3 separate regions of the Homo sapiens genome follow, and regions 2 and 3 are each linked to region 1. The links are contacts of gene promoters, found by promoter capture Hi-C in human tissues and cell types (Jung and others, 2019). All regions are on one chromosome and are shown on one strand. Each heading gives the region's core, a stretch centred on a gene start or on the middle of the fragment in contact. The rest is flanking DNA. Distances are from core to core; before and after follow the strand shown.

Region 1 (3,176 bases), core at 449-2,948:
AGACCAGGGCGGGGGATGCTAAGTGCTGGTAGGCGGGGAAGAGGCCAAGCGCCGAGCCGGGACCGAAGGCAGGGTAGCCCGGCAGAGGGCAGGCGGCGGCTGGAGGGGCGCCGCACTTCTCCTGGGCCGCGGCGGTTCCCACCTCGCCACCGCCGCCGCCGCCGCACGGCTGCCCGTCGCGAACAAGCACCGGCACCACCACGCGACGCAGCAGGCCGGGCGCGGCGTGCAGCTCGGCGGATGCTGCCAGGTCAGGCGACTCCGCCGCCCCTGGAGCGCGAGCGCGCTTCAGCTTGTAGCGATGATTCTGGAACCAGATCTTGACCTGCGTGGGCGTGAGGCGAAGCAGGCTCGCCAGCTGCTCGCGCTCGGGCGCAGACAGGTACCGCTGCTGCCGGAAGCGCCGCTCCAACTCCAGCGTCTGCGCCTTGGAGAATAGCACCCGCCGCTTCTTCCTTTTCTCGGCGTCCGAGCCCGGAGACGCGGGCCTAGCGGACGGCCGCTGCGACGAGTCTGGCGGGCTGGTCTCCAGGCTGCTCTCGTCCGAGGCTAGGGACAGCAAAGGAGACACGGGTGGGTGAGACGCCGGACCCTACGAGGGCCTGCTGCCCTTCTGGCGCGGGCGTGGAGGCACTGGCCAGAGGGCACGCCCACTAGCCCGAGACTTTCGGGATGAGGCCATTTCCTGAGTCCACATCTGGACATCCACCTCTCCGAATGCGGTGACCTCATTCATACCACAGCGGTCATCAGCGGGCCTGAGATCGTGCCCCGAAAAAACCCACCCCGGGGCCCTCTTAACATGTCCGCACCGGTAGTTGCGCTGGCCGACCAGTTTATCACAAGCTGGGTCACCAGCGCCGGCCTCCTCCAGGTCGACTGCACTGCAGTGTGCCGAGGTTTGCGGAGCCCTGAGTGGGAACGGGGTGGGGGTAAACTCGCCAACACTGGCCATCCCAGACGGAGGCCTGGAGATCGTGGCCGTGTTTTCAGGCATGGAGAGGGGGCGGGGGGTGGGGTGGGGGCGGCAGGTGGCGGCGCGTTTTAAATTTCAATTATTCCGACCTCTAGAAATCGTCAGACACAGAAACCCCAAATCTCGGAGCACCAGTGCCAGGCAGGGATCTGCTCTTAGGATGTGCCGACCGGGATGAATGCGTTAGGGGTTCGAGGACAGGGCTCCCGTTTCCAAGACTGAGGAAATCTAGACTCTGGGCTGGGATTTCGGCTTTCCGGCCCCTCGTGGGCTGGGCCCTTGATTCTGCTGCCCCACGCCTCCTACCTCCCACCCCGCACCGCAATCCACCACGCACTTACAAGGGTAGTGGCCGCGCTCCGAATCCAGCCAGGCGGCGCAGGGGTCGGGCTGGGGGGCGCGTGGTTCTGGCTCCCGCCTCGGCAGGTGTTGCGCGTCCTGCTCGGGTAAATCTAGAAGGCTGCGCACGGTGAAGCTCAGGCGTCCAGAGGTGGCCATGGCCGAGGAGGGGAAGGAGGCGGGGGCAGGGCAGGCTGGGAACGGAGGGGCGGCCGGGACGCCGCTCCTACGGATGGGCGTGGGAGGCGCTCGCCATGCGCTGGCAGCCGGGATATTAGCGCATTTACAGCGGAATCTCTGTTTATATAAACAGCTCTTCCCACCCAGGCCGCTTTGAAAGCCGAGGTCCGGGTCTCCAGGGTGTTAAGTACCTGAATGAGCACTGGACCAGAGCCGGGGCGAGCCCGGAAGGTGCCACCTCCGCCCCCGCCCCGCCCCGCACCCCGCCCCGCACCCCGCCCCTTGGCGCCCAGTTACCTCCCAGAGGCTGCAGGAAGCAGCATTTGGCATTAGCGATTCTGTCTGATTAGCCCAAAGTGGGGACAGATAATGGGGATTGTTACCAGTGAATAACATCTTGGGTGGCGAGCGGTGGCCACCACCCGCCTGACCCAGCCCCAGCTTCCTCCTCCTCCTCCTGGGCTGACTTGAGGCCAGGCCCCGCGGGAGCGCCGGGAAGGGTGGGGGTGGCAGGGGTGGGTTTATTAGCACCCAGGAATTTATTCCCTGTTTGCTTTATTCTTCGAGCTTGTTTGCTGGAGTGGTAGTTTCCCGCAATTATCCAGAAAGTGATTTACAAAGCGGCGTTAAACTCTGGCGCGCTCCCTTTCTCTTTTTGGTTGGGCCCCTCTAAGATTCAGGATGACAAGTTTCAGGAGGGCGTAAAGATTAGCCTGGCCCTGCCAGCATTGGCCCAGGGGTTTCAACGGCCGCTGGGAGCCTCGGATCACACCATACATCCCCCTAACAGCCTCAGAGGTGCTGAGGAAGGGCTGGGACAACATTCGGAGCCCCAGCTCCACGTCTCCACAGGCCGGCAAAACAGAAGAGGCTTGTAGCCAAGCTACTTAGGTCTACAGTGCCTGTCTCTTTGGCCCAGCTTCGCCCGGCCGCTGCCGATCTCGGAGCTCGGAGGCCGAGCTCCACAAATTTGGGTCCAGGCCCGCTTTAGAGCCCCTGGGCGGGGGCGCTTCTCAGGGCATCCTGTGAGGGCTTTGAGGCCTCCTTGGAGTCGCCAGATGAACTGGTGCCGCCTGTGCGCCTTGGCCCCATAGCCTCAACGGCACTCTCACTGCCTGGGCTTTGGTCTTTGCCCAGGAGCCTGCCCATGGCCTACGCTCCCCGCTCGCAGCATGGCAGACCCTGACGAGGCTGCCCGCCTTGGTCCGGGAATGGACCGATCGGGAGAATTAGGACAGGGCCTACCCGGCAGAAAATACCACCGGCCATGGGTTTCTCTGGGATCTTCTAGTTTCCACAGTTCCACCCTAGAAAATGATCAATGTAGGAGGCGCAGGGAACAGGCCGCCGTGGATACATTTTGTTGGGCCATGGCCTAGCTCTGGCCGCGCTTCAATCTACAGAGGAACGCCCTCTCAGAGGCCTCTCCTACTGAAGCTAGTAGTTTGGATATTTAGTTGCTAAATTGTAGCGAAGGGCTCTGTACTTGGGTGGCTGCACCAGAAGTCCTGGCTCCTCCCGGGCTGAACTCGAACCTGGCTCGGATGCGGCGGCGGCGGCCCTGTCAAGCCCCGCGCACCCTCCCCAGCAGCCTCCCTATCAAGCGTGCCCGAGGTGCCCGGAGCTGCACCGCGCGCTGGGTGGTCGGGCGGAGGCAACCCCAATACAGGCCAACTGCTAG
Region 2 (3,176 bases), core at 174-2,673, 57 kb before region 1:
CTTGGTTTGTGCTAGGGATCCAAACAATTCAGGATGAGATCATGTGCCTGAGTTTGTAGATCACAAAAGTCGCTAATAGAAGGAGTTATTCCTTCTGATTCTGTATTTTGGATTTAGAGAAACTGTGACTCTAGGCCTCTGACCTTCAACAAGAAACACTTGGGCCCCTCAGTTGCTCCCGCAGTCTCCCACAGCTAGGCACAGGCTTCTAAGCCGGGCTGAGCTGGGCTCGCGAGTGCCATCGAGGCAACCAGGCGCAGGGAGCGGAAGGCAGGAGTGTAACTGGGCGCTGGGGGGCGCTGCTCCGCAACCCCAAGATCCGAGGAATGCCTCCGGGGGATGATTTCTCTGGAGGGGTCTCGCAGGGCCCCCTCTGCGCTGCTTTCTCAGGCACCAGAACCGAAATCCTCGGGAGGGACCGCGGGAGCCCGGGGCGTGCAGACAGGCGGCTTTCACAGACGCAGCGGGAGGAAGGATCCCTCTACTGCTCCCTTTCCCGATTTGACCGTCTAGGGCCTTTGAGAGGACTTTCCTTTTGGGAAAGCTTTTCTCAATTCGTGGCCTGTGGGCAGGCTGGGGGGTGGGGCGCCAAGTCATCCGAGCGCGGCTTCTGCTTCTCCCTTTCCCTCACAGGCATGCTCTACGGAGGGTATGGGAGGCGAGGGCGCGTCTATGAGGGCCAGAGTCCGCGAAGAGAGTCCGGCCCTTAGGCCTTTGGTGTTGAAGAATCTGCTCCTCTGTCGGGTCAAGCCCCACTAGAAGTTAACACCTGTGGTCTCCAAACTTGCCTATTTTCCTGTCACGCAGTTCAAGCCAAGATTCAACTCGTCTTGAATTTTTGTATTTAGAGCCCCTACCTTCTCCACCGACTCCAGGGGCGCCCTCTGGCGGGAAGGGGCCTGGGGTAGGAGGGAACCTGAGGGAGCGGGTTACAAAGCAGAGAACAGCGGGAGCTCAGCAGCTCCCTTTGAATTGCGAGGAAACCAAGACGGAGACGGGAGGTAGGAGCACGGGCCTGAAGCGGTCAGCCGACCCTGTGAGGCCCGCGCTGCCGTGCTACGCCGCGAATCCGCCAGACGCCCCCGTCGGAAGGGGCAGGGACACCCTCGGGGGCGCTCTAGGGTTCGTGCTGCGCTAAGGTAAGTTTCGCAGCTGCTCCTGATAATTAAAGGACAGATTCCCGAAGCATCCTTGTGGCGGCGCGGCTGTTTTCGCCCCAGGACCTGTGCAGCCTCATTCAGCTTTAGGTAGTCGAAACCTATAGCTCTTTCTGCCCTCTGTTCCCCAACAAATCTCAGTCCCAACAGTGGGAGCCCGTGGGCCTTGGGTGTTCGAGTTTCCCGCGGGCTTGCCAGCAGCGCTGGGGTTCCCTCCTCCGCTCCTTTCCTCCTCTCCAACCTCCCACCACAGCCCGTCTCCCCCACATCCCCAACACTTGTCCCAGGCAGTTTCCGGTGGCCGCAGTATCGACCCCAGGCCATTGGGGTGGGTGTGAGGGAAGGGTGGAGGGGGAATCTCCGAGGCCCAATGTTTTCTGGGACTTGAGGGAGGCTGAATTCTCCCTCGCTGCCTAGGACTTGGGGTCTGAAGGTTGCAGACCGAGGCGATCCGCAGCGCCCTCTTCCGGCGGCCGTCTGGAGAACTGCAGCTTTAGAGCGGTCTCGGGGAAGCTTTGCTACTAGTTTCCGGCTAGGGAAAACTGGTGGTGGTCGGAGACTGGTAGTACATCATCCACGCATTCGCTCATTCTAACTGTCCGCCCGACCATACGTCAGGCTGTCTATCGGTCCACCCAAAGCCAATATAAGTTATGATTGACTCTTTGAATCACCCAGTCTCCTTGCACCTGCTATTTGAAAGAGCCCAGGTGTAGATCAGGGCTTGGAAGCTGCTCTTGTACCTAAAACCCTCTTTTAATTATGCTTTGCTTCGGAATTTTGTTATGCGAATGTCCTGTCCAAGTCAGAGGGCATTTGGAGGCATATTTGGTGACCAATGGAGTAGCTTGCACTTTCTGCATGTCCTTTCTGGAGGAGGCAGTGGCCCTATTAGCTTGACAGCCTGACACAAGGGGGTTCTGCCTTGTGTTGCAGCAGTAGGAGCATAACCTTTAGAAAATATTGGAGTAGGAAAACTTCTGGGACTAGCTACACTCGATGGGTGCCTTCCAGCTCTCCAATCTACGGTACCAACTCACTCAGGCAGGCTTTCCCCCAAATTATTCCCCCTTCTTTGGACTCTGGTCAAAACCAGATCCTCTCCACCCTCCCAAACCCATCCCAGCCAATATGCCCATGTTACTCTGCTATTCTTTTTCACTTAGCCAGAAAAATCATTCTTTCCAGCCCCACAACTAAGTCATATCCTTCTCTTTAAAAATCCAATTGCCTCTTCTGACAACTAAATGCCTGACACATAGTGGGAGCTCAATATATGTGTGCAGAATAAATGGATGAATCTCTATTACACTTTTCTGTTACATTGATAAGCAATTTCTTAATTGAGTGATTTCCTAATTGCCATGTGTTTGTGTTCTTTTTAGGCAGACCGTAAGCTCCTTATTTTCTGTTTTTTGTTGTTTTGTTTTTTCCCCCCAAGACAGGGTCTCTCTCTGTTGCCCAGGCCAGAGTATAGCGGTGTAATCATAGCTCACTGCCACCTCAAACTCCTAGGCTCAAGCAATCCTCCCTGCTCGGTCTCCCAAAGTGCTGGAATTACGGGCATGAGCCATCGTGCCCGTCCAGCTCCTTGATTTTAACAGCCATCTCAAAAACACTTAGACATGTTCCTAGAAATGTGCCCAGTGCTCTGAGGCATTTGATAATGTTAATCACCCCTTTCTAAAATTCTCTCATTGGCTGCAGAGTCACCACTCTATCATGGTTCTCTTCCTCCATCTCTGGACATTTCTTCTCAGAGACTAGGGTTGAATTCCCATCCTGCACTGTATACCCATCCCCGTGGCTTCAGCTGCCACCTGTTGCTGATGGCTCCTAAATCCATACCTCTAGCCAACCTCTCTTCAGAGCTTCCAATCTATATTTTCAGTTGTTTACCTCCTTATGTGAATTTCTGCCAAACAACATATCCAAATCTGAACTTACACTGTCCCAATTTGCTTCTTGTCCTGTGTTCTTGATCTAGGTGAATGGCATGAACATCTCCCAATTCCTGCC
Region 3 (3,176 bases), core at 289-2,788, 45 kb after region 1:
AGACAAATTTGTTTAACTCACTTTCACTTTCCCCTGGGCCACTCAGCCTAATTCATCACAATGTAAATTAGCAAAGATAGAGCGGACTTCTCTTGAGGCTGCAACCCGAGCTTGCTCCAGCAATGCTGGTGTTCTAGTGACAGGAAACAGCCAGAAGAAGACACTTACCCTACTTCTTGAACCAGGGTTCTCAGTCAGCTATCCTAGTGGTTCCTCCTAGAGGGTAGGCTGTATCTCTTGCCTTCACACTACAGAAGTGGATTAGTTATCTATGTTGTGTAAAAGACTACCCTGAATCTTAGTGGTTTAGAAAAAGAAAAGTTACTATCTTAGGTTTCTCATTATCAGGAGTCCTAGCACAGCTTAGCTGGATGTCCCACTTAAGATCTCTCACAAGGCTGCAGTCATCTCAATGCTCAACCCGGGGAAGATCCACTTCCAAACTGGCTCTCCTGTCTGTTGCCAGGTCTCACATCCTCCCTGGCTGTGGACTGGAGACATCACTCCTTGCCACGTGGACTTCTCCAAAGGGCAGCTCACAATATGCGGCTGCCTTCCTTCAGAACAAACCCGTGAGAAAGCGTGTCTTTTTGTAACCCAATCTCTATAGTGACATCTCACTGATTTTGCCCTATTATATTAATTAGAAGCAAGTCCCTTTGTCCATCCCACATTCAATGGGAAGGGATGTCACAAAGCTTGTATGCCCGGAGGTGAGGACCATTGGCAGTTTTAATCCAGCCTTGCTATTCAGTGCCCACAAGGGGCACAAGCAGCAATGAAATGGTCATCTCACTCTGAACATAACTCTGGCTCATCTCTTTGAAGAAGCTGGGAGTACACATAATTTCTGATAGCTACCATCTTCCTCCAAAAGTTAAATCCTGATGTACTTACACGCATGTACCGTGGACATACACCTTATATACAAATCCTAGGGAAAGTTGAGTCCCATTGTAGCTTATCGAGAAGAGTGAGCCTAGAACACAAAAACAGAATATTTTCTCCATAATGTCCTGGTACCTGTGGGTTTCAGTTTTGGTTGTGCCTTTTCTAAGTTGTGGGACTTTGGGCAAGAAACTTCCTTACGTCTCCATTGCCTCATCTGTAAATGAGGGGTAATAATAGAATTCATATCACTGGGTTTGTGGTGGGATTAAATAACAGTGATTACATATACAAGGGCCTAGCAGAGTGCCTGGCACATTCTAGGTACTAAGGAAATCTTGGTGCCTATCATTATCATTATTACTCACTGCTACTCTTTAATCTAATGTATTGCCCTTCCAGACTTCTGCACTTAAAACCTGGCTTGCCTCCTTTTAGGATTTCTAAAAGCTGGTCAATGCTAAAAACTTATGGACAGCTTTTTATGGCACCAATATATGTAAATTATAATCAGTCTTTGGAGGCCTAACGCTGGTAATTGGCTTCCATCAAAATAAGGCTTCTCAAAATCTTTAATAGAACAGGTTATTGAGAAAGTTTGCATGGAACAAAACATTACAGATTGGGAAATGCAAAGTTGATCTTTCACATTTCGTTGCTTTAATCATCACACACATTTTAAAGGGACATTCTGTGAATGTGAATAACCAAGGGCTACTTGGGCACGTTTGGCAAATTTGAGGGAATCTGCACAGAGAAGGGGAATATGGTCTCAGATCTTCTTACTAGGGTTGGAGCGTCCAAGTGTTTTAGAGGGAAGACAGCCCACAGACACGTTGCTCCCCAATGTTATATTGTGGAGTTAAACAGAGCTGAATGTCTCTTACTACTTGCCTGAGGCAATGTTAGTTGCATTCCAAAAGTTTTGAAATACATGGGCAGATATATGATCTATGGAATAATTGCTGACTTTCCATGTGCTTTGAAAAAGGGCTTAGGAGGGCAAAGCCACTTCTTTTTCTCTCTCCCAACTTTTTTTTCCCCTGGGAAGCAACAGGATTTTGACCCACTTCACATCCGCCTCCTGCCTCTGGTTTTGAAATCTGCAGCCTGATGGCTTGTTTGCTTGTTAGCATGAAAGGCTTGCCCTGGGTCTGTGCTTGCTTGTTAGTAAAGAACCAACAAGCATTGCAGTCCAAAGGTAATCACAGAATGAAATCACTTCCAGATGCTAAACCCACTCCTGATGGTGAAAGCAGACTTTACAATTGCAGTGGACCAGGTATTCAATGGCTCTCACCCAATCCTATTAGGGTTTTGAACATGCACATGTGTTCTCCTCCTCCTTTTTTCTCTCTCCCTCTTCTTCTTTTTTCTTCCCTCTATCACTCCTTGGTTTCCTCAGCTTGGATCAATTTCAATTTGAAGAGCAAAATCAAAGCTGGATATAACCCAGCCTCAATTCTCCCATAAGTATCTGAGCTCCTGTTATCTTGGGATCTATTATATGACGATAGCTCCCTGTTAGAGCTCCAGTCACCAAAGACAGGAGTAACTCTTTCTTCCAGCTCCATCCTCAATGGCCTGTCCCACGCCAAGTGCAAACATGAAGAGTGTTGTTCCTTGGACAGCAGATAAAGTGGCCAGAGGGATCATTCTGCCTGAAGAGCTACAAAGCTGAAAAGGGATCACTGTCCATACTCAAATCAGAATTATCACAGAAATGAGACTAGCTGAACAGAGCTGGAACCCACAATGGTAGAGTATGTGGGCTCAGCAGTGACATGGGAGCCAGTGTTCTCATCCTCTGCATGCTGAGCTGTGTCAGAGCTTCTCACAGAGTTCAAGAAAAGAGGGAAGGAAAGAAGATAGAAGGGGAGAGGAAGAAAATAAGGCTAAAAGAAGAAAAGAAATCAGTACTAAAAGAATATTGTTATTTAATCATAGCACTAAAATCTGAGGAAGAATAAAATCAAGAAGACTTTCAAAAGAGGAATTCATAGGGGCTGGGCGCGGTGGCTCATGCCTGTAATCCCAGCACTTTGGGAGGCTGAGATGGGTGGATCACGAGGTCAGGAGTTCGAGACCAGCCTGGCCAACATGGCGAAACCCCATCTCTACTAAAAATACAAAAATTAGCCTGGCACAGTGGTGGGCACCTGTAATCCTAGCTACTCAGGAGGCTGAGGCAGGAGAATTGCTTGAACCCGGGAGGCAGAGGTTGCAGTGAGCCAAGATCGCACCACTGCACTCCAGCCTGGGTGACTGAGCAAGACTCCACCTCAGAA

The links. The method cuts DNA at HindIII sites, captures the fragments that hold promoters and counts their contacts. A contact is called where the count stands out against the background at its distance.
Region 2: a contact is called between a fragment that was not itself captured here and the fragment with the promoter of NKX2-8 in region 1, in 5 of the 25 tissues and cell types used here (H1 embryonic stem cells, adrenal gland, mesendoderm cells and 2 more).
Region 3: a fragment that was not itself captured here is called in contact with the fragment with the promoter of NKX2-8 in region 1 in 1 of the 25 tissues and cell types used here (liver).

Annotation. Positions count from the first base shown.
Region 1 is chr14:36,580,916-36,584,091 of GRCh38, forward strand. It overlaps NKX2-8 (NK2 homeobox 8), which reads right to left and starts at 1,699. Exons shown (of 2, transcript NM_014360.4): 1 at 1,318-1,699; 2 at 1-549. The coding sequence starts at 1,474. RefSeq lists enhancers at 1-279, 280-1,090. The HindIII fragment of the contact is 13,278 bases long and covers 1-3,176 here.
Region 2 is chr14:36,524,070-36,527,245 of GRCh38, forward strand. It overlaps LOC105370453 (a long non-coding RNA gene), which reads left to right and starts at 620. Exons shown (of 3, transcript XR_001750715.2): 1 at 620-1,139. RefSeq lists an enhancer at 797-1,735. The HindIII fragment of the contact is 5,941 bases long and covers 1-3,176 here.
Region 3 is chr14:36,626,333-36,629,508 of GRCh38, forward strand. No RefSeq gene overlaps it. Among named protein-coding and RNA genes, the nearest start is that of PAX9, 34 kb to the right of the region's middle. The HindIII fragment of the contact is 5,003 bases long and covers 1-3,176 here.